7 separate regions of the Homo sapiens genome follow, and all the other regions are linked to region 6. Evidence: promoter capture Hi-C in 16 types of primary human blood cells and fetal thymus (Javierre and others, 2016). All regions are on one chromosome and are shown on one strand. Each heading gives the region's core, a stretch centred on a gene start or on the middle of the fragment in contact. The rest is flanking DNA. Distances are from core to core; before and after follow the strand shown. Region 1 holds the start of TRAF7 (TNF receptor associated factor 7). Region 2 holds the start of LINC00254 (long intergenic non-protein coding RNA 254). Region 3 holds the start of TBL3 (transducin beta like 3). Region 4 holds the start of HS3ST6 (heparan sulfate-glucosamine 3-sulfotransferase 6). Region 5 holds the start of SYNGR3 (synaptogyrin 3). Region 6 overlaps AXIN1 (axin 1). Region 7 holds the start of MSRB1 (methionine sulfoxide reductase B1).

The links. The method cuts DNA at HindIII sites, captures the fragments that hold promoters and counts their contacts. A CHiCAGO score of 5 or more calls a contact.
Region 1: a contact is called between the fragment with the promoter of TRAF7 here and a fragment that was not itself captured in region 6, in 6 of 17 cell types (naive CD8 T cells, M1 macrophages, total CD8 T cells and 3 more). The highest score is 9.9, in naive CD8 T cells.
Region 2: the fragment with the promoter of LINC00254 here is called in contact with a fragment that was not itself captured in region 6 in 1 of 17 cell types (M1 macrophages); the score reaches 6.6 in M1 macrophages.
Region 3: a contact is called between the fragment with the promoter of TBL3 here and a fragment that was not itself captured in region 6, in 14 of 17 cell types (naive CD8 T cells, erythroblasts, M1 macrophages and 11 more). The highest score is 60.2, in naive CD8 T cells.
Region 4: the fragment with the promoter of HS3ST6 here is called in contact with a fragment that was not itself captured in region 6 in 8 of 17 cell types (M1 macrophages, naive CD8 T cells, erythroblasts and 5 more); the score reaches 29.9 in M1 macrophages.
Region 5: the fragment with the promoter of SYNGR3 here is called in contact with a fragment that was not itself captured in region 6 in 12 of 17 cell types (naive CD8 T cells, total CD4 T cells, M1 macrophages and 9 more); the score reaches 33.8 in naive CD8 T cells.
Region 7: the fragment with the promoter of MSRB1 here is called in contact with a fragment that was not itself captured in region 6 in 15 of 17 cell types (M1 macrophages, erythroblasts, naive B cells and 12 more); the score reaches 67.3 in M1 macrophages.

Annotation. Positions count from the first base shown.
Region 1 is chr16:2,154,439-2,157,833 of GRCh38, reverse strand. It overlaps TRAF7 (TNF receptor associated factor 7), which reads right to left and starts at 2,052. Exons shown (of 21, transcript NM_032271.3): 1 at 1,976-2,052. It overlaps SNHG19 (small nucleolar RNA host gene 19), which reads left to right and starts at 2,476. Exons shown (of 2, transcript NR_132114.1): 1 at 2,476-2,691; 2 at 2,912-3,052. SNORD60 (small nucleolar RNA, C/D box 60) reads left to right here and starts at 2,729; the gene lies at 2,729-2,811. RefSeq lists enhancers at 279-862, 863-1,444, 1,368-1,507, 1,518-1,617, 2,488-2,687 and 1 more and a silencer at 1,918-2,007. The HindIII fragment of the contact is 6,190 bases long and covers 1-2,455 here.
Region 2 is chr16:1,882,931-1,886,271 of GRCh38, reverse strand. LINC00254 (long intergenic non-protein coding RNA 254) reads left to right here and starts at 2,041. Exons shown (of 3, transcript NR_033914.1): 1 at 2,041-2,175; 2 at 2,976-3,076. The HindIII fragment of the contact is 12,471 bases long and covers 1-3,341 here.
Region 3 is chr16:1,970,118-1,973,586 of GRCh38, reverse strand. It overlaps TBL3 (transducin beta like 3), which reads right to left and starts at 1,534. Exons shown (of 22, transcript NM_006453.3): 1 at 1,382-1,534. The coding sequence starts at 1,422. RefSeq lists enhancers at 1,209-1,348, 1,409-1,748. The HindIII fragment of the contact is 11,738 bases long and covers 1-3,469 here.
Region 4 is chr16:1,916,502-1,920,082 of GRCh38, reverse strand. It overlaps HS3ST6 (heparan sulfate-glucosamine 3-sulfotransferase 6), which reads left to right and starts at 1,668. Exons shown (of 2, transcript NM_001009606.4): 1 at 1,668-2,172. The coding sequence starts at 1,760. RefSeq lists enhancers at 1-449, 450-1,013, 1,014-1,575. The HindIII fragment of the contact is 9,727 bases long and covers 1-2,847 here.
Region 5 is chr16:1,988,400-1,991,857 of GRCh38, reverse strand. SYNGR3 (synaptogyrin 3) reads right to left here and starts at 1,888. Exons shown (of 4, transcript NM_004209.6): 1 at 1,657-1,888. The coding sequence starts at 1,755. RefSeq lists enhancers at 1-32, 2,351-2,930 and silencers at 349-428, 1,469-1,588, 1,669-1,758. The HindIII fragment of the contact is 15,217 bases long and covers 1-3,366 here.
Region 6 is chr16:340,684-344,354 of GRCh38, reverse strand. The region is part of intron 2 of AXIN1 (axin 1); the gene reads left to right. Among named protein-coding and RNA genes, the nearest start is that of AXIN1, 10 kb to the left of the region's middle. RefSeq lists an enhancer at 2,339-2,890. The HindIII fragment of the contact is 169 bases long and covers 2,247-2,415 here.
Region 7 is chr16:1,941,877-1,945,217 of GRCh38, reverse strand. MSRB1 (methionine sulfoxide reductase B1) reads left to right here and starts at 2,019. Exons shown (of 4, transcript NM_016332.4): 1 at 2,019-2,116. The coding sequence starts at 2,062. RPL3L (ribosomal protein L3 like) reads left to right here. Exons shown (of 10, transcript NM_005061.3): 10 at 325-1,244. The coding sequence ends at 381. It overlaps LOC124903625 (a long non-coding RNA gene), which reads right to left and starts at 2,424. Exons shown (of 2, transcript XR_007064940.1): 1 at 2,337-2,424; 2 at 585-2,233. RefSeq lists a silencer at 1,546-2,045 and an enhancer at 3,230-3,341. The HindIII fragment of the contact is 19,007 bases long and covers 1-3,341 here.

The sequences.
Region 1 (3,395 bases), core at 803-3,302, 1.8 Mb before region 6:
CTGTGACCAGAGTCACATTCCTTCTGCTTCGTCCACGGCTGCCACACATCCAGGAGCCCCGGCAGCGCCTGAGCCAGTCCCATGCCAAGCCGGGGAGTGGCTGCATCCCAGAGCCAGGCTGCCCAGGCCTCCTGGCCAGGAGGCTCTTCAACTGCATCTTCCTCCTTTCCCCAAACTGCTCATTCCTTGTCCAACCAGCTGGCCGAGAGTCACACCAACCACGGGGTGCCAGGCCCCATGCGGGAGGGTGGGGATGTGTGACGGCTGAACACGAATCTGACCCGGGAGGAGCTAGGAGCCTTGTGGGGGACACAGGCAGACAGAGGGGCAGGAGCCCCACCAATCGCCACTCAATCTGCCAAAGGCACTTTTCGGTGGGTGCCAAAGACCCTGAACTTTTCCATTCACTTCCAGAAATATCGTAACACTTGGCCCCAGTGGGCCACGGTGGAAGTCACTTCACCAGAGACCCTCAGGTTGGGGCGTCAGGTTGGGGTGCTGACTCCCAGCCCCTCCCCTCCTTAGGCCAGGCTGCCCATACCACTGCTCCCCCTCAGGACACGGGGCCCGAGGCTTCCACAGAGAACTATGAATGCCCAGAACAGTGAAGTCAGGATATTCGCAACAGAGAGGCACAGGGAAGGGGTCTAGGAAGGGAGAGGCCCAAAGAGAAGGAATGAGGAAGAGGGAGGCTCCTCACTTGGCGAGGGCTAGGGGGCCTGTGTGTGCCCAGGAAGGGGTCTGAGGGGTAGTGAGAAAGGTGGGCAGACAGGCTGGGCGGCATGAAATTCCTGAGCAAGCCAGCAGCCCCTCACCCCCAAGAGCAGGGTGGGCTCCAGCAGGCCCCTGCCCCTGGACTCCAGACTCAACCCCAGCTGACCACTCTGGCCTGGCTCAAGACAACCGTATCTTGACAGCAGGACCCCAGTGGGGACTAGGAGACGATGGCCTAGCCTCCCTCTCTCCTGCTTCCCCAGTGAACTCTGAAGTCTGTGGTCCACACACAGTTAGAAAGCTCTTTACTGGACCTAGATCGGACCGCCTCTCCAGCGCTTCCTCAACCCCAAGTCATTTGCCAGCATAATAACCCCCCCGCCCCACCCCACCATGCACCCTGTGAGCCTGGTCCGGCCTCATCGACTTCACCTCTCCACTTGCCAGTGCTTGCTGGGGTGCGTCAGGCCCCTTCTCACCCCAGGCCTATGTACATCTGGCTCTTTCTACTTGGAATGCTCCTCCTGCATGTCCTGGGACTGGCTGCTTCTCCAACAGGCCTTTGGCTAACGGTAGCGCCGCCCCTACCCCCGGCCAGTACTCACTTTTTCAGCACCCTCTTTCTTTCTTTCACAGCACATACCGCTGCTCCCCATGATTTTAACTACCTATTGTCAATCCCACCACCCTGTCTGTCTAGATGGGGGATGGGGGGAGTTGTTCCGCAGGAGGCATTTGCCAATGCATGGAGACATTTGTTATCGCAATTGAGGAAGGGGTGGTGTTTACTGGTATCTAGCGGCCAGGAGCCAGGCAAGCTGTTCCACATCCTACAATGTACAGGGCAGCTCCTCGCAGCAAAAAGCGACCCGGGCCGCGTGGTCGATGGTGCGGAGGTTGGGGAACCCTGCAGCAGACGCCGAGCACAGGAGAACTGGGACCGTGTTCTCCGCGGTCTCCCGGCGCCCAGAACAGTGCCTGGCACCCGGGAGTCTCGGGGAATGCAGGAAGAAGGAATGAGTAAAGAACTGCGCGAGAACAGGACGGAGCGAGGGACGGACTACTGACTGGCGGACGGACAGCGACGCGGACCCCGACCCTGACCCCGACCCCGACCGTCTCAGCCCCGCCCCCCCCTCCCCGCCCCGGCCCGACCCCTCGCCTCGCCTCGCCTCGCCTCGATCTCCACGCGCCCGATCCCGCCCCACCGCGCGGTCCCGAGGCGCGAGCCCCGGGTCGGGCGCGCCGCGGGGACACTCACCCGCCCGCGGCCGCCCGGGAGCGGCAGCGCCGCCAGCCCGCTTCATGATGCCCCCTCGGCCGCCGGCCGGGAAAGGGACTAGACGCGCGAGCCGGAAGCGCCAGGCCGCTGCGCCCGCCGGGACGTGTAGTTCCCCGCCTCTCCGGGCCCGGACGGCTGCCTCACGCGCCGCACTTCCGAAACTACGACTTCCGGCGGCCTCGTCGTCGCGGGGCGGGAATGGCAGCTTCAGAATCACTCTATGTTGCAGATCGAAGTCTGATTGGCTTTGTTCATCCGTCACTCACCGTTAGGCTTCACGGACTCTGCATAAGGGAGGAGCTTCGGGTCTGGGTCTGAGAGACCGTCTCCAAAAGAAATGCCACGGTACGATTGGTGGAAACAACGCGGCAGGGAGCGGAGCGTACCAGCGGCGGGGGAAGGCGGGCACTTCCGCCAGGATAGCCCAATGACAGAGGTGGGACAGTTTCTATAAAAGCTTGAGCCTCGCCCGCCCCTGTCTTTTCGGGGTCGAGTCCGAGGGGGAAGAGGTTTGTTAATACGTTCGCCATGTGCTACGATCTTGGGACGAACTGAGCCACGAGCGTGGCTTTGAGGGCCGTCCGAACGCTGCAGGCCGGCCAGGTCCCTGGGCGTCCAGGCCTGGCCTACGCACCACTTTGTCCCTTAGCGTTTAAAGGTTTCTTCCCGAATCTCAGGCCCTCAGCTACCTGCAGGTAAGACTGGGCCGGGCTTGGGTTCCCTTATTCTCCCAGTCTGTGATGAATTGCTTTGACTTCTGACACCTCGTATGAAAACTGCACGTGCAGTCTGATTATTTAGCAAGACTGAGGCTTGAGGGTGCGCACTCCTGACGGGGAGCTGAGAGTGGAAACAGGTGTTGCCCGAAACGAAGGAGTGGGGACTTAATGTCTGTATTTTGGCGCTGACTTTCAGGTTTCGTCGCGAGCCGGCTGCAAGTTTTGAACCTAAGTAAACCTCAATCCGGAGGGCCTAGCGGTAAGGTGGGCGCTGTGTCTATTGAAGTGCTTAGCAATAAAGAAAGGTAGTGAGTTGATTCGGTTTTCTCTCAAGTGTCTTTATTTTCCTATTCTGGCACCCCAGAGGTCTGGCTGATCCACAGGCAATCTTGGAAAAGGGTACAGACATGAAAACGGAAGCTCGTTACCAGTGACTTTTCATCTCTTGGGATTGCCTTCTCCATTTCTGCCCGTGATTTTTTTTTTTTTTTTTTGAGACGGAGTTTTGCTCGTTTCCCAGGCGGGAGTGCGATGGCACAACCTCCACCTCAAGCGATTTTCCTGCCTGAGCCTCCCAAATGGCTGGAATTACAGGCGCCCACCACCACGCCCGGCTAATTTTGTATTTTTAGTAGAGACGGGGTTTCTCCGTGTTAGGCTGGTCTCAAACTCCTGACCTC
Region 2 (3,341 bases), core at 792-3,291, 1.5 Mb before region 6:
AAATAACATCTATTTTTAAAATTCTATTAGACAATTCTCATATCAACTTTCTGTAAAGGACTGACAAAGATTCTTCTATACTACATTTTTACTTTTTTTTTTTTTTTTTTTTTGAGACGGAGTTTTGCTCTTGTTGCCCAGTGGAGTGCAATGGCACGATCTCGGCTCACCACAACCTCTGCCTCCTGGGTTCAAGCAATTCTCCTGCCTCAGCCTCCGGGTAGCTGGGATTACAGGTGTGAGCACCATGCACCACAACTCCTGGCTAATATTGTATTTTTAGTAGAGACGGGGTTTCTCCATGTTGGCCAGGCTGGTCTCAAACTCCTGATCTCAGGTGATCCACCCGGCTCAGCCTCCCAAAGTGCTGCGATGACAGGCACGAGCCGCCACCGTGCCCAGCCCTTTTTTTTTTTTTTTTTTTTTGAGACAAGGTCTCGCTCTGTCACCCAGGCTGGAGTGCAGCGGCACAATCACAGCTCACTGCAGCCTCAACTTCCCTGGGCTCAGGTGATTGTCCCACCTCAGGCTCCCAAGTAGCTGGGACTACAGGTGAGCCACCACCCCTGGCTATTTTTTGTAGAGATGGGATTTCACCATGTTGCCCAGGCTAGTCTCAAACTCCTGAGCTCAAGCAATCCATCCGCTTCCACCTCCCAAAGTGCTGGGATTACAGGTGTGAACCACTGTGTCTGGCCCATTTTTACATTTTCAAAAAATGTATTGAATATTATACACATAGAAGTGCCCAAGCCATCAGTGTACAACTCAATGAATTTTCACAAAGGTGACCATTTACCATTGCTCAGACCAAGGAACAGAAGGTAACCAGCACCCCAGAACCCCCCTCACTCCCCTTCCTCTGCCTACCCCTCCTCAGCAAGAGTAACCACGACTGGACCTTGTAAAGCTATGTATTTGTTCTGCTTATTTTTAAATCTTATGTAAATGAATCATAGATGATCTCACACTGCATTTTAATAGACACCACCATTCTCTTTCTCCTCTCTAGGGCTTTCAGCACTTCTCAAATCTTACAAGTTGTGAGAAAATGTATCATTCTTTTACACTCAACTGTGTCAAACATCCTAAATAAAGTTCCCAAACCCAGGAAAGCCAGGGACTGTCTGCGATTTGCTGTTCCCAAACCCATGAAACCCAGGGACCGTCTATGATTTGCTGTGGCTTCACCTGTATGGGTCCAGGTTGCTCACGCCCACCTGTTCACCCTTATGAGAACCCATCACATTAAGAAGATGGAAAACAGGCCGGGTGCAGTGGCTCATGCCTGTAATCCTAGCACTTTGAAAAGCTCAGGCCAGGATCACTTGAGACCAGGAGTTCAAGACCAGCATGGCCAACATGGCGAAATTCCATCTCTACTGAAAAAACAAAAATTAGCCGGGCGTGGTAGCACATGGCTGGAATCCCAGCTACTCGGGAGGCTGAGGCAGGAAAATCGCTTGAACCCGGGAGGCAGAAGTTGCAGTGAGCAGAGATCGTGCCATTGCAATCCAGCCTGGGCCACAAGCGCGAAACTCTGTCTCAAAATAAATAATAAAAGTTTATCATATTTTATTATTTAGTCATAGCTTATTTAGACGATACTTGTATTGATTTGCCCACAGAGTCACTCTGGGTTGAGACAGAAAGCAGTCAGAAGCAATTCGTGCTCTCTGTTGGCATTAGCGCTAAGAATAAAATAAGTCAATACAGTCGCTTCCACAGTATGACAAAAGGTTCCGTCTTGATCAGTCATTTTCTGACCCAAGGTCACAGCTCTTGCAAAATTTTACTGTAGCTCGACAAACTCTCCATATCAACTCCACATTACAAGATCTTTCGTTTCTTCAATTAAACAACTGGAAATGGATACCATCCATGCTCTCAGATTTATGATGTCAATAAAGCCCATTATGATCACACCCTGCTGTTGAAAAATGGGATGGCAGGGAACTGACAGGCTGTTTTTAGGTCACCGTCTTACACAATACCAACCGCCCATCAGGTTGTTTCAAAGGCTTTCAGCCACTGACTAATAGAAAAAGAGACTGCATACAACGTTTCATTCATGTTTTGCTAGGCTAGATACATTTGTTGTAGCGGTCTCATATTTGTAAGTCCGTGGAAAAACCTGAAAGTATTTTTTTCTTGAAAATTTTTTTGAAAAAAAAGGTATTCTTTGTACAATAACTATAGAGAAAAGATGTTAAAATGTCACAACAGTGATTCCATATAAATTCAGTTTCTTTTTTTTTTTTTTTTTTGAGACAGGATCTCATTGTGTTGCCCAGGCTGGAGTGCAGTGGCGCAATTTCAGCTAACTGTAGCCTCGACCTCCTGGGCTCAAGCGATCCTCCTACCTCAGCCTCCTGAGTAGCTGGGACTACAGACAAGCTCCATCACACCAGGCTAATTTTTGCATTTTTTTTATAGAGACGGGGTCTCACTCTGTTGCCCAGGTGGAACTCAAGCTCCTGGGCTCAACTGATCCTCCCTCCTTGGCTTTCCAAAGTGCTGGGATTACAGGCATGAGCCGCCGCATTCAGCCCAAATTCACCTTGTTTTTCTTTTTTCTTGAGATGGAGTTTTGCTCTTGTTGCCCAGGCTGGAGTGCAATGGCTTGATCTTGGCTCACTGTAACCTCCACCTCCCGGGTTCAAGCGATTCTCCTGCCTCACCCTCCTGAGTAGCTGGGATTACAGGCATGCGCCGCCATGCCCAGCTAATTTTTTGTATTTTTAGTAGAGATGGGGTTTCACCATGTTGGCCAGGCTGATCTCCAACTCCTGATCTCAGGTGATCCACCCACCTCGGTCTCCCAAAGTGCTGGGATTACAGGTGTGAGCCACTGCAGCTGGCTCAAATTCACTTTTAAAGTATTATTTTATGATGGGAAATACTGATAGAGGGTACATGTTGCATTTATAAGTTTTAATATAATTTTTCATTTATTAACTCATTGGACAACCCAGTAAAATGTCATTAGGAGTGAGAATCAGGAATGATGGATTCACGGTCTAGTTGCAAGACTCATCACAGGCCATTAACCTCTGAAAAGCCTTTATCTGCTTCGGTGAGTGCTTCCAGAGTTTGCAACACGAATATATGTCCACGAATATAAGTTTGATATGATAGTGAGAGTCTGCCTATTCAGAAGAAAAAGTTGCCCAGCTGGATTTAGTTTATCTTCGTCTCAGTGTTCTTTATTTTAATTTTAAAATATTTGAGTATTAAAGATTGAATTCTATTTGGGATGATGGAAACATTCTGGAAATAGACAATGATGATGGTGATACAACCTTATTAATGTACATAGTGGCACTGACTTACGCCCTTAA
Region 3 (3,469 bases), core at 285-2,784, 1.6 Mb before region 6:
GCTGTCATTTCTGTGACCTCACTCGTGCCCCTTCTCCTTCCTTCTCCACTGCCTCCACCTGGTCCAGCCCATCACAGTCTCTGGCCAGCCACTCTGGCCTCTTCACTGGACCCCCTACCTACCTCTTTTTACTTATTTATTTTTTGAGAAGGGGTCTCGATCTGAGAAGGGGTCTCCAGCCCAGGCTGGAGTGCAGTGGCACGATCTCAGCTCACTGCAAGCTCCACCTCCCGGGTTCACGCCATTCTCCTGCCTCAGCCTCTCCGAGTAGCTGGGACTACAGGTGCCCGCCACTGCGCCCAGCTAATTTTTTGTATTTTTAGTAGAGACGGGGTTTCACCGTGGTCTCAATCTCCTGACCTCGTGATCCGCCCGCTTCGGCCTCCAAAAGCGCTGGGATTACAGGCGTGAGCCACCGCGCCCGGCCTCCCCTACCTACCTCTTAACCCTGCTGCCAGGTACCTTTCAGAACATAACTGAAGATGTCACTGCCCTGCGTTAGCCCCTCCCTTCTGCCCACACACCTCCCAGACCTTGCCCAGAAGAGCCTCTGCCACCCTTGCCTCTGCTTTCTTTCCTTCTCATGGCCCACAGTGCACCCCACTGCTCCTGTCCCAGCCTCTGGGACGGGTTTCCTATCTTCCCCCTATTCCCTGTACGCGGCCTGGGCTTCTCTTCCCAGATGTCAAGGCCTGGCTCACTGCGCTTCTGGAAGCCTGACTGCCAAAACGAAAGCGGCCCCTCAGCCCCCGCACCCAGTTGACCCTCCCACGACGGTGCTGCCAGCCTGGGACTTTCCTTTACCAGTGCTTGGCACAACCAAAGCCCCACAGCCGCCAGTGGAAACGATAATCCCATGAGGCTGCGCTGCCAGGGCGGGGGCACCAGCACTGCTGTTCGGCAAAGGCTTGGGGAGTGACGGGGCACAGCACTCAGGGCCTCCTGGGCTTCTGCGGACCCGCCCCTCTCCTGCATTCTCCCTGCTCCCTGGAGAAGACGGATCGCGGATGAAAGGTCCCCAGGCCGACTGCTCAGAGGTGGTTCTTCGCCCCCGCCGCCTCCCGGGACCAGCCCCGACCTAGGCTCAGCCCTCTCCTCCCCTCATCGGGACTTCTGGTCCCCACTCCACCCCATAGCCGGCTTCTCGATGAGCCCACGCTGCTGCTCCCGGCGGCCGGGCTCCGATCGCCGTCCTCCCCGAGAGCAGCCGGGGCCGGCTCTCCCGCCTAGTATCACCGCAGCCTCCGCGACCCCGCGGGCCGGCGCACACACAGCCTCTCGCCTCCACGGACCCCAATGCGTGCCCACCCCACGCGCGCCTCCGCTATGCCGGCTGCAAACCCAGCTCCCTCCCCGCACGGCCCCAGAGCTCCGGGCTCACTTGGTCTTGAAGCGGCCCACTCCGGCCGCGGTCTCTGCCATGTTGCCGCCGCCGCCGCTCCAGCTGAAACCTGCTAGGGTCCCGGCAGCCACCGCCGCGTGAGGGAGGTTAGCACCGAACTCTTCACAGAACGCCACACTCCCGGCGCGCTGCGATGGCGTCACCGCGCGCGACCACTGTGACGTCCCCGCCGGCGCCGCGCACTTGGCGCCATCTTTGCTTCGGGCAGTGGCGGCTGCATCGGGAAGCGGAAGCGGGCGGAGACGTTTCCGGCCTGGAGGGAGGGCCGTGAGCTGTGAGGGTGCTTCGCGGGTCGGTGGGGGTAGACCGGCGGATGTGGCATCGCTGGTGGCCTGGCTCTTTGATACCAGTATAAAAAGGCATTTGTAGCCAGCGTTTACTCCTGCTTTTCGGCGTTCTGGGATGTGGGGGTACCAGCTGTCGGGTGCGGTCCGTGCGTAGAGCCGTCAACCTGACCCTGCCCCTGGGCTCGCAGTGTGGCTCTTGATAAATAACGTAGGTAAATGAATAAACCGGGTAATCTCAAAGGCATTCATGTATTGAGCACCTTCTGTGTGCAAAGCACTGTAATCGGCACTTGGCGGACACCAGAGAAGAAACAGAACGGGCGACGAGTGATAGTTGCTGAGCGCGATGGAAAAAGGAGGAGGGCCGGGCGCGTTGGCTCACGCCAGTAGTCCCAGCACTTTGGGAGGCCGAGGCGGGTGGATCACCTGAGGTCGGAAGTTCGAGACCAGCCTGACCAACGTGGAGAAACCCCGTCTCTACTAAAAACAGAAAAAAAAAATTAGCTGGGCGTGGTGGCACATGCCTGTAATCCCAGCTACTTGGGAGGCTGAGGCAGGAGAATCGCTTGAACCCCGGAGGCGGAGGCTGCAGTGAGCTGAGATTGCGCCACTGGACTCCAGCCTGGGTGACAGCGTGAGACTCCGTCTCAGAAAAAAAGAAAGAAAGAAAGAAAAAAAAACAGAAGGGAGGGAGCGGAAGGGAGGAAGGAGGAGGCTGTATTGAGAAGGTGACGCCTGAGCAGACACAAGTTCGCGAAGCAGGGAGCCCTGTGGAACGAATGGTGTTGAGAACAGCCAGGGCACAGGCCTAGGACTGGGGGTGCCAAGCATTGAGTAGCAACAAGCCGGGTGGCTGCAGGGAGTGGGTGCAGAGGGCAGAGGGCATGCAGTTGCCTGTGCGCCGTGGCGAGGAGTTAGCTTTTACTCTGAGTTCAAGGTTTTGAGCCATTTGTGCTACTGGCTCTGAAGCTGGTAGAAAGTAACAGCCAGGCCGGGCGCGATGGCTCACGCCTGTAATCCTAGCACTTTGGGTGGCCGAGGCCGGTGGATCACGAGGTCAGGAGTTCGAGACCAGCCTGGCCAGCATGGTGAAACCCAGTCTCTGCTAAAAATACAAAAATTAGCCTGGTGTGGTGGCGGGTGCCTGTAATCCCAGCTACTCGGGAGGCTGAGGTAGGAGAATCGCTTGAACCCGGAGGCGGAGGTTGCAGTGAGCCAAGATCGCAACGTCACTGCACTCCAGCCTGGGCGATAGAGCAAGACTGTCTCAGAGAAAAAAAAAAAAGTAACTGGGCCAGTCTGGGCATCATGGCGAGACCCTGTCTCCACATACACACACACACACACAGAAAATTTAGTAGGGGTGGTGGTGTGCCTGTAGTCCCAGCTACTCTGGAGGCTGAGGTGAGAGGGCTGCTTGAGCCTGGGAAGCTGAGTTTCTAGTGAGCTGTGATTGGGCCTCTGCACTCCAGCCTGGGCAACAGAGACCCTATCTCAAAAAATAGAAAAGAAAAAAATGAAAAAACGAAAGTAACTGAGAAGGAGAACTGAGAAGTATGATCAGGGAAAATCTCTGAGAGGAGAGATATTTGAGGGAAAGAAAGTAGGCCATCATGGTGGCTCACACCTGTGATCCCAACACTTTGGAGGCAGGAGGATCACTTGAGCCCAGAAGTTTGAGACCAGTCTGGATAACACAGTGAAACCCCATCTCTAAAATAAACACAAAAATTAGCCGGCAGTCGTGGTGCGTGCCTGTAGTCCCAGCTACTCAGGAGGC
Region 4 (3,581 bases), core at 419-2,918, 1.6 Mb before region 6:
TGAGACCATGGGGATGCTGAGACCGTGGGGACTCCTGAGACCGTGAGGACTCCTGAGACCGTGGGGACTGCTGAGACTGTGGGGTGGATGCTGCAGGGTGGGACCCCAGCCCCCACCCCGAGCCAGCCCGTTGGGAACAATACCGTTTCAAGCTAGACCAGAAGAAGAATTTCCTGTGACCCAGCATAAGCCAGCATGCTCTCCTCGCATTGTGCCCGCTGCCTGCCCACGGGGCTCCTGCAGAGGCTTGCCCAGATGAGCAGGTGCAGCCCGCATGTCTGGAGCCGGGGCTGGGGGACTGGTCAGTGGTCTTCACCCCGTCAGCCCCGTGTGGCCCCCTCTGGCCAGGGCTGCTGCTGGGTAGGAGCTCCGGAATGTCTGTGGGTCGTGGAGGCCTTCGGCCCCTTGAGGCAGCCCGGCTGCTGGGACTTGTCCAGATGCCATCAGGGCTGGAACGGCTCATTAACGCAGCAGAGCCCAGGACAGGGGCCGCAAGCCCTTGGCTGGGAAGAGGCTGGGCCTCTGCCGGGAGCCTGTGCCGTGCCTGCCTGGCGCCAGCCCTGTGGCCAGGAAGGCTGGGGCAGAGGTGGAGAGAGGACCCGGGTCTCATACCACCTTTGCCTTCGGATGGGGCAAGTTGCTCGCCCTCTCTGAGCCCGGCTCGCCTCCCCTGCCTTCCCTGCAGGCTGCTGCTGGGCGTTGGGGATGTGAAGTTCCCGCAGTGTCTAGCGGCCCCCGCAGGTCCCACCCGAGAGGCCCCTGAATCTCACGCCCCTCAGAGGCAGCCCCTGGGGGAGGTCCTGGGCTCCTTCTCTTCCCCAGCACAGGGGTCCCTGAGTCCTTTGTACTCCAGTGGGGTCCACTTTGCCAGCTTCCGAAATGCATCACTGATGTCTCTGGGCAGTGCCAGGTGGACCAAGGCTGGGCAGATGGGGTGACTTAGTAGACAGAGTATGTCTCAGGCCTGAATTCAGTTCACCACTGGGCCCCTGGGAGGGAAACCTATTTTCTCTGAGCCTGTCCCCTCCATTCTAAAACAGTAACCAGAGGTGACTTGACCTCTCAGCGGCCAGGCTGTGACCCGATGTGTGACTGTCAGCTGGGAGTGCAGGACGCACGCCATTCCCGGCCGCAGACTCCCCCCACACGTTCTGGGATCCCTCTCTGCACACTAGGGTGCTGTCCCGGCCTCTTTCTCCCTTGGCAGGCCGAGTGCCCGGATCGACGCTTTTCCTGGGTCCCCTTGGCCTGGCGATGAGGCTCCCGCTCCTGCAGGCCAAGGCTTGGCCTATGCACCTGCCGCGCACGTCCCGGAGTGGGGTGGGGGGGGAAGGGGATCGGTCTTCAAACAGAGGGTCCCGAGGCCCGCGCGCCGCCCTGTCCCTGCCCTGCGTCCCGAACGGCCACCGCCGCCGCATCCTCCCCGCGCAGAGGTGAAGATGCCGGAGTCAAGCGAGCCAGGGCCTGGGATCTCGGAGCAGGAGCGTCCTGGTGGTCCCGGCAGCTCGAGTCGCGCCCGGGTGGTGGCGGCTGCCGGCGGGTCCAGCCCAGGCAGTGGCCTCGGAGGCGGAGTGGGCGGGGGAGGGGGAGGGGGGAGGGCGTCCAGACCCCGCCCCCGGTCCCGCCCCGCGCCCGCTCCCAGGCTGCGGGACCGCCGGGCGCAGAGCACAAGCCGGGCACCCACGGACTGAGCGGCGCGCGGGCCGAGATGCGCGCCCGCCTGCTGCCCCCGCTCCCGGGCCTGGAGCGGCGCGACCCCATGGCAGGTAGCGGCGGCCTGGGCGGCGGGGCCGGGGGCGGCCAGGGCGCAGGGGCCGGGCAAGGGGCCGCTCTGCGGGCGTCCCGCGCGCCGATGCTGCTCGTGGCCCTGGTGCTCGGCGCCTACTGCCTCTGCGCCCTCCCCGGCCGCTGCCCGCCGGCCGCCCGCGCCCCCGCGCCGGCCCCCGCGCCCTCCGAGCCGTCCAGCTCCGTCCACCGCCCGGGAGCACCCGGCCTGCCTTTGGCCAGCGGTCCCGGCCGCCGGCGCTTCCCGCAAGCGCTCATCGTTGGCGTGAAGAAGGGCGGCACGCGCGCCCTGCTGGAGTTTCTGCGGCTGCACCCCGACGTCCGCGCGCTGGGCTCTGAGCCCCACTTCTTCGACAGGTGCTACGAGCGCGGCCTCGCCTGGTACCGGTGAGCACCCTGGCCCGTCCGCCCTGACCGGCGCCTTCCTGGGGAGGGTATCGTGCGCCCCAGGGAGCAGCGGCACGATATCCTGCCTCCCAGGGAGCAGGGGTGCGCTCCGGGCAGTGGGGTTGGGACCGCCCTGTGGGGGCCCCAGGCTTGACCTGGGGTCCCGGCTCCGGAAGAAGGAATGATACTTGGCTAGGATTCCCTGAAACTTTGAAAACTGTGGGGAAAGCCCCGGTTCCGTTCTCTCTGCTGAGGGACCCAGCAGGACTGGGGGAGGCGGTGGCTTCCCAGCCCAGAGGTCGTTTCCAGCCCGTGGGATTACCTGGCAGCGTCAGAAATGCCTCTGCCGCCCGCTCACTCTGGGCACTCAGGTGTGACCGACCGCTGGCCAGGTACTGTAGAAAGGGGCCTCCAGGTTCCAGGCAGCCACCTAGAAAGCGTCCTTCCTCCCCAAGACCCCCGAGTCTGCGCACAGGAACCCTTGTTGGTGGTCCTGGGAGTCCGGAGAAAGTCTGGGCTTTGGAAAGGAGGAGACTGCCTTTAGGTGAGTGCCCAGGGTGAGTCCAGCCCCGTGCATGGGGCTCTGTGGCTGTCCTGCCTCTACCCAGGATGGACGTGGGGGTGCGGCAGCCTCAGCTGAAGCAGCCCGCGCTGGTGGCTGCTCATCCCCAAGCTTGGACCCAGCGCCTGCAGAGAGGACCCTGCCCAAGGCCAGTTGGGGAGTCAGTGGGGGTGGCAGGACCCAGACGCTTCTCCAGGTGCTCCAGTTTCTCCGTTCCCGATCCTCTGATCCTCTTCCTTCCCTGACGCCTACCCCTATTTGTTAACTTTGCCTTTTGTACTAAAACTACTCTTGGGTTTGGAGGGCAGGCAGGAAGGGGCTCCGTGAGAATAGGGTGGCTCGCTTCTGAGATCTGAAGGGCTGGTGCCAGTGTGGGGTGCTGGGGAAGTCAGGTGGTGGCTAGGGGACATGGAGTCCATCCCGGGGCTCACCTGGCTGAATTGGGCATCCTCAGCTCAGGCTCCAGGGAGAGACCTCACTCCCCTGACGGCAGGCAGGGGTCAGAATGCATCCCTAATCCCTGCTGCAGGGAGGAGGGTAGGAGGGGCTACCAAGCTAGAAGCTGGGGAGGAGGGGAGTGGCGAGACGGGGGAGGAGGGGAGAGGCGGGAGGGGGAAGGGGAGAAAGGGCTTTGGGTTAAGGATGCACAGTTAACTGGAGTAAACACTTCAGAGCCACCCCTGAGCCCCATGAGCTTTGACAGCAAGAGACTGGGGGTGGGATCTGAGCTGGGCCGTGAGGAGCCACAGGGGAAGCTAGGGTTGGGTTTAGCCCTAAAGGGTTCTGGAAGAGCCCAGGCTCCTGAGGCCAGTCCAGGCCCGCCCTGGGCATGTGTCCAGCGCTGGGG
Region 5 (3,458 bases), core at 639-3,138, 1.6 Mb before region 6:
CGGTGTCACCTCTTTCTTTCCCGAACCCTCGCGTATTTAGTAATTATTGACAACACGGGCCGTTTAGTGAGCATCTACTATGCCCAGACATTGTGTTAAACAGCCACTTTACATGCGTCCCCTCACCAAATCCTCAGAAAGTCCCCGTGGGATCGCCATTGTTCTTATTCTCTTTATAAATGCGGGGGACATTGGGACCCCAACAGGTGAAGTGACTTGTCCGGGATCACATGGCTGACAAAAGCCGGGGTTGATTCAAGCCAGGTACTCTGCACCGCGTGGGCCCGTGGAGTCCCCTCAGAGCCCACTCAAGAGTGTGGGAACAGGAGCCTTCACCTGGGCCCGCGATTCCCAGGCTGGAGCCGGAACGGCGAAGGGGAGGTGAGAGTGCAGCAGGCAGAGCGGGGCGGGAGGGAGGGTATGGAGGCAGCGGAGCTGTTGCTTCCTGCGCGGTTGGGAACTGTCTGGCCTGTTTTCTAGCATGCAAATAGGGTGACGGGCACAGCTCATGCAGTGCTGGGACAGACATGTCCACCCAGCTTCCTGCACGTGGTGGGTACCCGAGGGATGACAGCCCCCACGTGACTGATTATTAATATCACCTGTAAGTGTTTGGGCTGAAAAGATGACACCGTTGACCTCTGAGGTTCCGTCAAACCTCAATGCCTCCTGCCCACCAGTTCCGGGAGACAGGCATGAGGGGGACCGCAGTCATTTTAACCAGCGCTGCACGGGGCAGCCCTGTGTTTCCAAGAAACGACCTCCAGCCTCAACCTCATCCCTTCGCTCCTTTCCCGCTCCAGCTCCGAGAGTGGAGCCAAGGGGGAAGCCGGGACATGCACTTGTCCCCAAGAGTGGGCCACAAGTCGGGACGTGCGCTCGGACCAAAACGCAGCGTCCTGCCTCCCGGTCTGGTCAGAGCCACTCCGCAGGGGAGGCCAAAGCCCCTGCCCCACCGTGGGCACCGCCCTCCTCCAAGACAGGCGCCGAGGTGCGGCTGGCCCAGAGGTTGCCACCTGGACAAAACCCAGAGCTCGGCACCCAACTGCCACCTCCCCTGCCGGAGGGAAGGAGCAGCAGGGCCCTCCCAGGGACGCCCCAGTGGGCTAGGCTGCTCCCAAACCTGCCTTCCACACCGCCGCCAGGAAGCCCTCCCAGCCCAGAGCCTCTCCTCCCTCAACTCACAGCTGGAACTGGGGGCCAGGGGACAGGCTCCCTGCCAAGGAGACCCGAGGGTGTGTGTGCGGGGGAAGGGGAGGCGCTTCTCGGTTCCCGTAGCCCCCTCCTGCCCCTCGGAGAATTCCGTCCCCACCCCGTCCCTGCTTCCAGGTCACGAGAACAGGAAAAACGGAGTAAGGGCTGCGGAAAGGGACTGAAATTAGACCCGGGGAGGAGGTAGGGGTAGAGGCGACCGGCGGTGACCTCTCAAGGTCCCTCTCCGGCGCCGCCGGCCCCTCCTCCGCCCGCAGGTGGGCGCGCCCTGCCCGGTGACGTCACCCCAACCTGAGGCCGGCGGGGGAGGGGCCGGCGAGGATGAGAGTGAGTGAGGTCGGGGGGCGAGAAGCAGGGGGCAGGGGGTAGGGGGCAGGGGGCTGGTAGGGGCCTGAAGGTCGCGAGGCAGGGGCGGGAGCGGGGGCCCGGGCAGGGACCACTCACCCAGGACGCGACCCGGAGCAGGGTCTGGGGCCGCCGCGCAAAGCTCACGGGGTCCAGGGCGGCCCCTGCGCGGCCCGCGCCGAAGGAGGCGCCCTCCATGGCCGGCCCGGGCGGGACGCGCGCCCCTGGCGCCTTCTGTCCGCCTGTCCGTCCGGCCGGCCCCGCCCGAGGCCGCTGCCGCTGCCGCTGATGCTGATGCTGATGCTACCAACGCTGCAGCCGCTGCCGCCTCCCGGGAGCGCGCGCCGGCCGCGGCGGGGACGCGCGGGACGGGGCGGGGCCGCGCCCGCGCCCCCCACTGGGTCCATGCGCGCGGGGCCGGGTCCCTCCTCTCCCTCCGCCGCGCCCACCTCCCATCCCCCACCCTCACCTGCCTGCCCCGGTCCCGAGATGGAGACCATCCTCAGGAACCCACCAGCCAGGTCCCCGGGGGCAGGGTGGGGCTCGGGTGCTGGGCGCAGACTTTGCTAGAGCCGGGAGGACAGACAGGAGGAGTCCGCTCCTCTGGGAAGGGCACTTGGGTGAGGGAGTAAAGGGGTAGGAGGTCCACGGGCTGCAGCATCTTCCCCCAACCCACGGGAGAGGGGACCGGCTCCCTGGCCCTGGTCCCAAGAAGACCAGATGGATAACTGGGGTCTTTCTCATGGCCCCCCACTGTGCTCTAGCTGCTATCACAGCTTCTAGCCTCTGGCGGGGAGGATCTGGTGGGAAGAAAGGCGTTGGCCCCAGGAGCACCTGTTGAGGGAGGGGACAGAGCCACCGTGGCCAGCGCCGCTGGGAGTGTTGGTTTCGGTGTCTCCGCTCCTTGCCCGTGGCCAGGTGGTGGTGCTCCCAATGCCCTCCCTACTCCTGGGTCTCCCCAGCGTACTTGCGGCGCCTAGTCTGGAATGGAGGGCAGGGAGCGGCATCAGAGACTAGGAGTCGGGTGGGGGTGGTGCCTGGCTGCCCTGTGTCCCGCTGAGTCCCCTCCACAGACCCCAGCCTTGGGTGCAACAAGGTCCCTCTCCTCATGTTCCTAGCAGGCTGGAAGTTCAGATGACTCCTAGGTTTCTGTCTAGAGCACTGAGATGTCTGCACTGACATTTACAGCGCCAAGCGCTTGACCTGTGTAGTGGCGGAGACTGTTACCACCCTGTACTTCAGATAATAAGCAACCCAGGTCCCTGCTACACGAGCCGGGTGCACAGATGGTGCTGCGTGGCCCAGCCCCCCTGGAGCTCATTCTTCAGCCTTGCTGGGCACAGGTGGGCAGAGCAGGTGTTGCCAGAGGCGCTACTCACTGTGTTCCAAGTCCATCACACTGTGCGTCCGATCACAACCCCTCTCACCTGTTGGCCACAGACCTCCCCTCTGTGTCATTCATTCTCTACTTCATCACTAACATCAGCACCCAGACATGCTGCACTTTCTCCTAAAAGCCAAACACTGTTGACCCCACCTCCCCTCCAGCTGCCTTACGTTACTGCTTCCTTTAGCAGCAAACTCTGCCTGCAACACCCTCCTCTCTCTCCCTCTGACCCGGCAGAATCAGCTCCCACCGCCACCTAAACTCAAGGTTGCCACTGACCTCTCCGTGCCAATCCCAAGGGCAAGTCTGATGCTGCTGTCGACTCATTTATTTCTTTAGTTATTTATTTATTTTTTGAGTTACAGTCGCACTCTGTTACCCAGGCTGGAGTGCAGTGGCGCAATCTTGGCTCACTGCAAGCTTTGCCTCAGGGGCTCAAGTGATTCTCCTACCTCAGCCACTGGAGTAGCTGGGATTCCAGGTGTGCCACCGCACCCAGCTAATTTTTTTTTTT
Region 6 (3,671 bases), core at 1,082-3,581:
AGGTTCACGCCGTTCTCCTGCCCCAGCCTCCCAAGTAGCTGGGACTACAGGCGCCCGCCACCATGCCGGCCAATTTTTTGTATTTTTAGTAGAGACTGGGTTTCACCATGTTAGCCAGGATGGTCTCGATCTCCTGACCTCGTGATCGCCTGCCTCAGTCTCCCAAAGTGCGGGGATTACAGACGTGGGCCACCACGCCCGGCCTTTTTTCCCTTTTGTTCATTGTCTTTAGCCAAGTGGTATTTATTTAGCAAGCATTTTAGGACACAATATGCCGCAAAGTTATCCTGTTGAGTAAGCCTGGTATAAACTGAGAGTTTCTTTCTTTCTTTCTTTTTTTTTTTTTTGAAATGGAGTCTCGCTCTGTCACACAGGCTGGAGTGCAGTAGCACTATCTCGCTATCTCGGCTCACTGCAACTTCTGCCTCCTGGGTTTAAGTGATTCTCCTGCCTCCCGAGTAGCTGGGATTACAGGTGTGTGCTACCATGCCTGGCTAATTTTTGTATTTGTGGTAGAGACAGCGTTTCGCCACGTTGGCCAGGATGGTCTCGAGCTCCTGGACTCCAGTGATCTCAGCCTCCCAAAGTGCTGGGATTACGGGTGGGAGCCACTGCACCTGGCTGGTTATTTTTTTTGCTTGTTTTTTTGTTTGAGATGGAGTCTCGCTCTGTCGCCCAGGCTGGAGTGCAGTAGTGCAATCTCAGCTCACTGCAACCTCTGCCTCCTGGGTTCAAGTGAGTCTCCTGCCTCAGCCTCCCGAGTAGCTGGGATTACAAGTGTGAGCTACCATGCCCAGCTAATTTTCTGTATTTTTAGTAGAGATGGGGTTTTACCACGTTGGCCAGTCTGGTCTCGAACTCCTTTCCTCAAGAGATCTGCCCGCCTCAGCCTCCCAAAGTGCTGGGATTCCAGGTGTGAGCCACTGCGCCCGGCCCCGGCTGGTTATTTTTAAGATGGGACTGAAGTTGAGGGCTGGGCTGCAGGAGGAAAATGAGCTCCGTTCTGATTTCCACTGTTGGAACCCCAGTGCCTCCCTCCCAGCCACTCTTCAGTTCTTGGCTGCGAGCAGTAGCTTTGCTGTCTGTCCTTGGTTTGCTGTATTTGTAATAAGGAACCTTTGCTATGAAATTAGTGGGATACATTGGCTTCTCCTGTCTAATTTTGTGTAGCTCTGTCTACACAGTTTGGGTCCTAACTTGACTGCTCTGGGGCTGCTGGTGGCAGAGGACCCTGGGGCTTGGGAGTCGTGTCTGCGGTTGAATCCTCTCTGTGGGAGGTGGCCTGTGGTGCAGCCTTGTGGCTTGAAGATCTCTGATGTTGGAATGGTTGCTTGTCAGCACAGACAGGGCATGAAGTCCAGGCTGCGTTCCTCACATTTAGACCATTCTCTTTGTCCTGCCAGGTGTAGGTGAGGGTGCACTAGGTTGGAAGTCGTGGAAACCCACCCACCTGAGCCCAACCCTGAAGGGCACTGTTGAGGCAGAGCCTCAGGTGTGCCTTAGGGCCTGGCACCTTTGCTTTGTGCCATTCTGACTTTGCCTGCCTGGTGGGCGACTTCGTGGGCTTTGTGTTGGAGGTGGCTGCTGCAGTGACCTTGGGCTCTGGGCTCCCTTGTTTACAGATGCTTCCCGCAGCTCTGACGGATGGGCCCGCTGTTGCTCTGAGGAGGGCACGTGTGCCGCTGTGTCCCGTCTGTCTCAGCACAGTCACGGTGCGTGCGCTGGGGGCTGTGCAGCAGGGTCACTCCTGAAGGAAAGTGGGTTCTCCACCCAGACAGACGGCTGCTCCCCAGTGGGGAGCTGGGGGCAGTCCTCCAAAGGAAGGCTGCGGGTAATGCAAAGGGAAAAGGAGAGTGGGTACTGAACAGGCGGCTGGTGAGCATTGCTACCACAGCAGGGCCTGGAGCTTAGGCCTCACGTGTTAGGGGATGCATATCCTGTGGAGAGCCGGTTAGTCGTCCCGGTGTGTCCGGAATTGGTGGGTTCTTGGTCTCACTGACTTCAAGAATGAAGCCGCGGACCCTTGCCGTGAGTGTTACAGTTCCTAAAGGCGGCCTGTCCGGAGTTTGTTCCTTCTGACGTTCGGAGGTGTTCGGAGTTTCTTCCTTCTGGTGGGTTCGTGGTCTCACTGGCTTCAGGAGTGAAGCTGCAGATCTTCGCGGTGAGTGTTACAGCTCATAAAGGCAGTGTGGACCCAAAGAGTGAGCAGCAGCAAGACTTACTGGAAAGAGAGAAAGAACAAAGCTTCCACACTATGGAAGGGGACCCGAGCGAGTTACCACTGCTGGCTCCCGCAGCCAGCTTTTATTCTCTTATCTGGCCCCACCCACATCCTGCTGATTGGTAGAGTCCAGTGGTCTGTTTTGACAGGGCGCTGATTGGTGCGTTTACAATCCCTGAGCTAGACACAAAGCTTCTCCACATCCTCACCAGATTAGCTAGATACAGAGTGTCCACACAAAGGTTCTCCAAGTCCCCACCAGAGTAGCTAGATACAGAGTGTCGATTGGTGCATTCACAAACCCTGAGCTAGACACAGAGTGCTGATTGGTGTGTTTACAAACCTTGTGCTAGATACAGAGTGCCGATTGGTGTATTTACAGTCCCTGAGCTAGACATAAAGGTTCTCCACGTCCCCACCAGAATCAGGAGCCCAGCTGGCTTCACCCAGTGGATCCCGCACCGGGGTTGCAGGTGGAGCTGCCTGCCAGTCCCGTGCCGTGCGCCCGCACTCCTCAGCCCTTGGGTGGTCAATGGGACCGGGCGCTCGTCGGGGAGACTCGGTCCGCACAGGAGCCCACGGAGGGGGTGGGGGGCTTAGGCATGGCGGGCTGCAGCTCCCGAGCCCTGCCCTGCAGGAAGGCAGTTAAGACCCAGCGAGAAATTGAGCGCAGCTCCGGTGGGCCGGCACTGCCGGGGGACCCAGCACACCCTCCGCAGCCGCTGGCCCGGGTGCTAAGCCCCTCATTGCCCGCGGCCGGCAGGGCTGGCCGGCTGCTCTGAGTGCCGGGCCCACCAAGCCCACGCCCACCCGGGACTCCAGCTGGCCTGCAAGCGCATGCAGCCGCGGTTCCCGCTCGCGCCTCTCCCTCCACACCTCCCCGCAAGCTGAGGGAGCCGGCTCCGGCCTTGGCCAGCCCAGAAAGGGGCTCCCACAGTGCAGTGGTGGGCTGAAGGGCTCCTCAAGTGCCACCAAAGTGAGAGCCCAGGCAGAGGAGGCGCTGAGAGCGAGCGAGGGCTGTGAGGACTGCCAGCACGCTGTCACCTCTCACCGGGGTGGAATTTGCGTGGAGGAACGTGCCAGGAGGGCCAGCCCTCGGGTGCTGACCCCTCTGTCCTGGAGGCTACTTTGCCTGCATCTCTGCCACAGTCGCTCATCCCCTGCGGTGGGGCTGCTGCGGTCCAGCACGGCCACAGGCATCCAGTTCCCCTGTGGGACGCCTGAGTGCGGGTCCTTGTTGGTCCGTGTGTGAGCCGCGTGGTGGTTTCACATACTTGATTTGAGGAAAGTGAAGTGTTCTGCTTAGGTCTTTGTCTCAGCCTAGGAAAGAGCTCCATTCCTGGCCCTTTTCTGTGTTTGTCCCACTCACCCACTGTCATTTTGAGCTCCTGGGCCAAGGTTTCATGGGGTTCCTCCCTGGCTCCCCCGCTCTGCCTCTGTGGGAACACTT
Region 7 (3,341 bases), core at 770-3,269, 1.6 Mb before region 6:
ACGCCAGGCTAATTTTCTGTATTTTTAGTAGGGATGGGGTTTCATCGTATTAGCCAGGATGGTCTCTATCTCCTGACCTCATGATCCGACCGCCTCGGCCTCCCAAAGTGCTGGGATTACAGACATGAGCCACCGTGCCCGGCCTGCAGGAGAGACTCTTAAGGGTCTATCCCTGGGCACTGATTCTTTAGAAGAGAAGGTGGGGGAGGAAGCAGCCTTAGGGGGGCAGTAGGGCCGGCCCTGAGTGATCTAGAGCCTGGCTGGGGGAGGGCGTGTTTCTGGCCAGAGTGACTAAGGCTCCTCCTGCACCACCCTCTCAACCAGGGCCCCCAAAAGAAGCATCTGGAGAAGGAAACGCCGGAGACCTCGGGAGACTTGTAGGCTGTGTGGGGTGGATGAACCCTGAAGCGCACCGCACTGTCTGCCCCAATGTCTAACAAAGGCCGGAGGCGACTCTTCCTGCGAGGTCTCAGAGCGCTGTGTAACCGCCCAAGGGGTTCACCTTGCCTGCTGCCTAGACAAAGCCGATTCATTAAGACAGGGGAATTGCAATAGAGAAAGAGTAATTCACACAGAGCTGGCTGTGCGGGAGACCGGAGTTTTATGTTTTATTATTACTCAAATCGATCTCTTTGAGCATTTGCGGAGCAGAGGTTTTTTTTTTTTTTTTTTTTGAGAGAGTCTTGATCTTGTCGCCCAGGCTGCTGGAGTGCCGGGGAGCAGAGTTTTTAAGGATAACTTGGCGGGTGGGGAGAGCCAGTGAGCCAGGAGAGCCGATTGGTCAGGGAGGAAATCACAGGGAGTCAGCTGTCTTCTTGCGCTGAGTCAGCTCCTGGGTGGTGGCCACAAGATCAGATGAGCCAGTTTATCAATCTGGTTGGTGCCAGCAGATCCATCAAGTTGCAGGGTCGGCAAAATATCTCAAGCACTGATCTTAGGGGCAGCTTAGGGAGGGTCAGAATCTTGTAGCCTCCAGATGCACGACTCCTAAACCATAATTCCCAATATTGTGGCTAATGTTAGTCCTAAAAATGCAATCTAGTCCCCAGGCAAGGAGGTGGTCTGCTTTGGGAAAGGGCTGTTACTGTCTTTGTTTTAAACTATAAACTGGCTGGGCGCGGTGGCTCACGCCTGTAATCCCAGCACTTTGGGAGGCCAAGATGGGCGGATCACCTGAGGTCGGGAGTTCAAGACCAGCCTGGCCAACATCGAGAAACCTCGTCTCTATTAAAAATACAAAATTAGCTGGGCGTGGTGGCGCATGATTGTAATCCCATCTACTCGGGAGGCTGAGGCAGGAGAATTGCTTGAACCAGCGAGTTGGAGGTTGCAGTGAGCTGAGATCGCGCTACTGCACTCCAGCCTGGAAACAGAGTAAGACTCCGTCTCAAAAGAAAGAAAGAAAGAAAGAAAAAAACAAAAAACTATAAACTGAGTTTCTCCCAAAGTTATTTCAACCTACCAGCAGGGATGAATAAGGACAGCTTGGAGGTTAGAAGCAAGATAGAGTCGGCTGAGTTAGATCTCTTTCACTGTTTCAGTCATCATTTTGCAAAGGCGGTTTCACCTGGGCGCGGAAAGGCTGCATGACCTCCGGCAGCTCCGGGCTTAGTACCAGGGACTGGACTGGGGGGACACGACCCTACGGATTCGCGCCGTCGCCCACCTGGCCAGGCCCCATGTGCGCCCCTAGCCACCAGGGCGCGAGGGGCGGCAGGGGCGGGGCCTTGGGGAAGCGGCCTAGGGGTGGTCCCTGGGAGTTTCCATGGGCGGGGCCTGCTGGGGAGATGCGATTGGACTGGCACCGGGGGGCGGGGCCTTGGGGAAGTGGCCCAGGAGTGGTCCCAAGGAGTCAACGTGGGCGGGGCCAGCTGGGAAGATCGTATTGGACCAGCCCTGAGGAGGGGCGGGGCCTCCCGGAGGCGGAAGCCGGGATTCGCCCTCCGGGGAGCGATTGGTCCTCGGGAGGGGCGGGGAGGTGGACGCGGGTACCGGCGGTCGTCGGGTCGGCAGCCTTTGGTCAGTTGGCAGCGGCAAGCGCGCTGCGGTTCCGGTGGCGCCATGTCGTTCTGCAGCTTCTTCGGGGGCGAGGTTTTCCAGAATCACTTTGAACCTGGTTGGTCCTGCGGCCTCTCGCTGGGAGGGCAGCGCGGCGGGGGGCGCGCATTAGCGGGGGCGCCGCCGTCGTCCGGGGGTGATGTCTCTCCCAAGCCGGGAATGGGGGCGAATGTGGCTGCCGGGGAGAAGCGAACAGGGGTCAAAAGGACTGCGGAGGAGTGGGGAGCCTGGGGGCGAGGAGAGTGGGGTACCCGAGGAGAGGGGGCCTTGGGGCTCACCGTCCTGGAGGGGGCAGGCCTCGAGTGTGAACGTGCCGTTTCGGGGGTGGGTCTAAGGGATCGGGATACGTGGGGGTGGTACCCCTTCCCTACCCCCTACACTCCAAAGTGATGGCGCTGGGGGAATTCGGGTTAGGGTCGGGGCTTCGGAGAGGCCAGGTTCTTGTCCAGGGCCAGCTCCTGTGGCCGGGGCGCCCCTTCGCGGGTCATCCCGCAGGTGTTACCCTGGCCCTTCCCATTCCCCCGAGTCCGGGATCTCTGGGAGGAGTCTGGCAAGCATAGAATGTCCCCTTCAGATCCTAATGTGCCGGCCCAGGTGCCTCCCCACCTGCCCAGGGACTCCAAATTGGGGAACCAGGAGTGCCACCAGGCACCTGCCAACAGCCCGTGAAGTTTGACCAGGCAGGCAGGATGGGGTGGTTTGGGGCATGGCCAGCCCTCCACACTGGCCCTGATGAATCCCTTCTGGGCTGGGCTCGCCTGGTAGTGGACTAATTTGGTAAAAACACATCCACAGGCAAGTCTGAGTGCACTGGTCTCCTTGGGCGGATCTGCTGGGTGGCACCCCTGTAGCGGGTTGGGCTGTGACACAGGACCATCCCGGCAAAGCCTCCCCCAGCAAGACTCTCTGGCTTTAGATCCCAGTTGTCCTCAGGCTGCTCTGCCAAGCCAGAAACTCCACTTCCACAGCAGCTGCTGGCTTCTCTTTGCTTTTTTCTCCAGTTCCTGGAAAAGGCTGGGTAGTTTACAGTCTCCAGGGGAGGCTGTCCCCAGGTGATGGGTGAGAGGTGACTCAGCACCCCTGGAGGTTCCTGTTTTCAGTCCTTAAAACAGTTCTGCAAGTCAGTTTTGCAACTTTCCCACCCCCTCCACTCCAAAGGGATCCTTTGTGGGTAGGCTGAAATCTGTTGTCCCCAGCCCTCTTTCTTCCTGGGCTCCTGTGTGGCCTGGAGGCCTTTTCTCTGGGACTGTTCTCTTCCTGCCTGGAGAGCAGAGCAGTGCCTG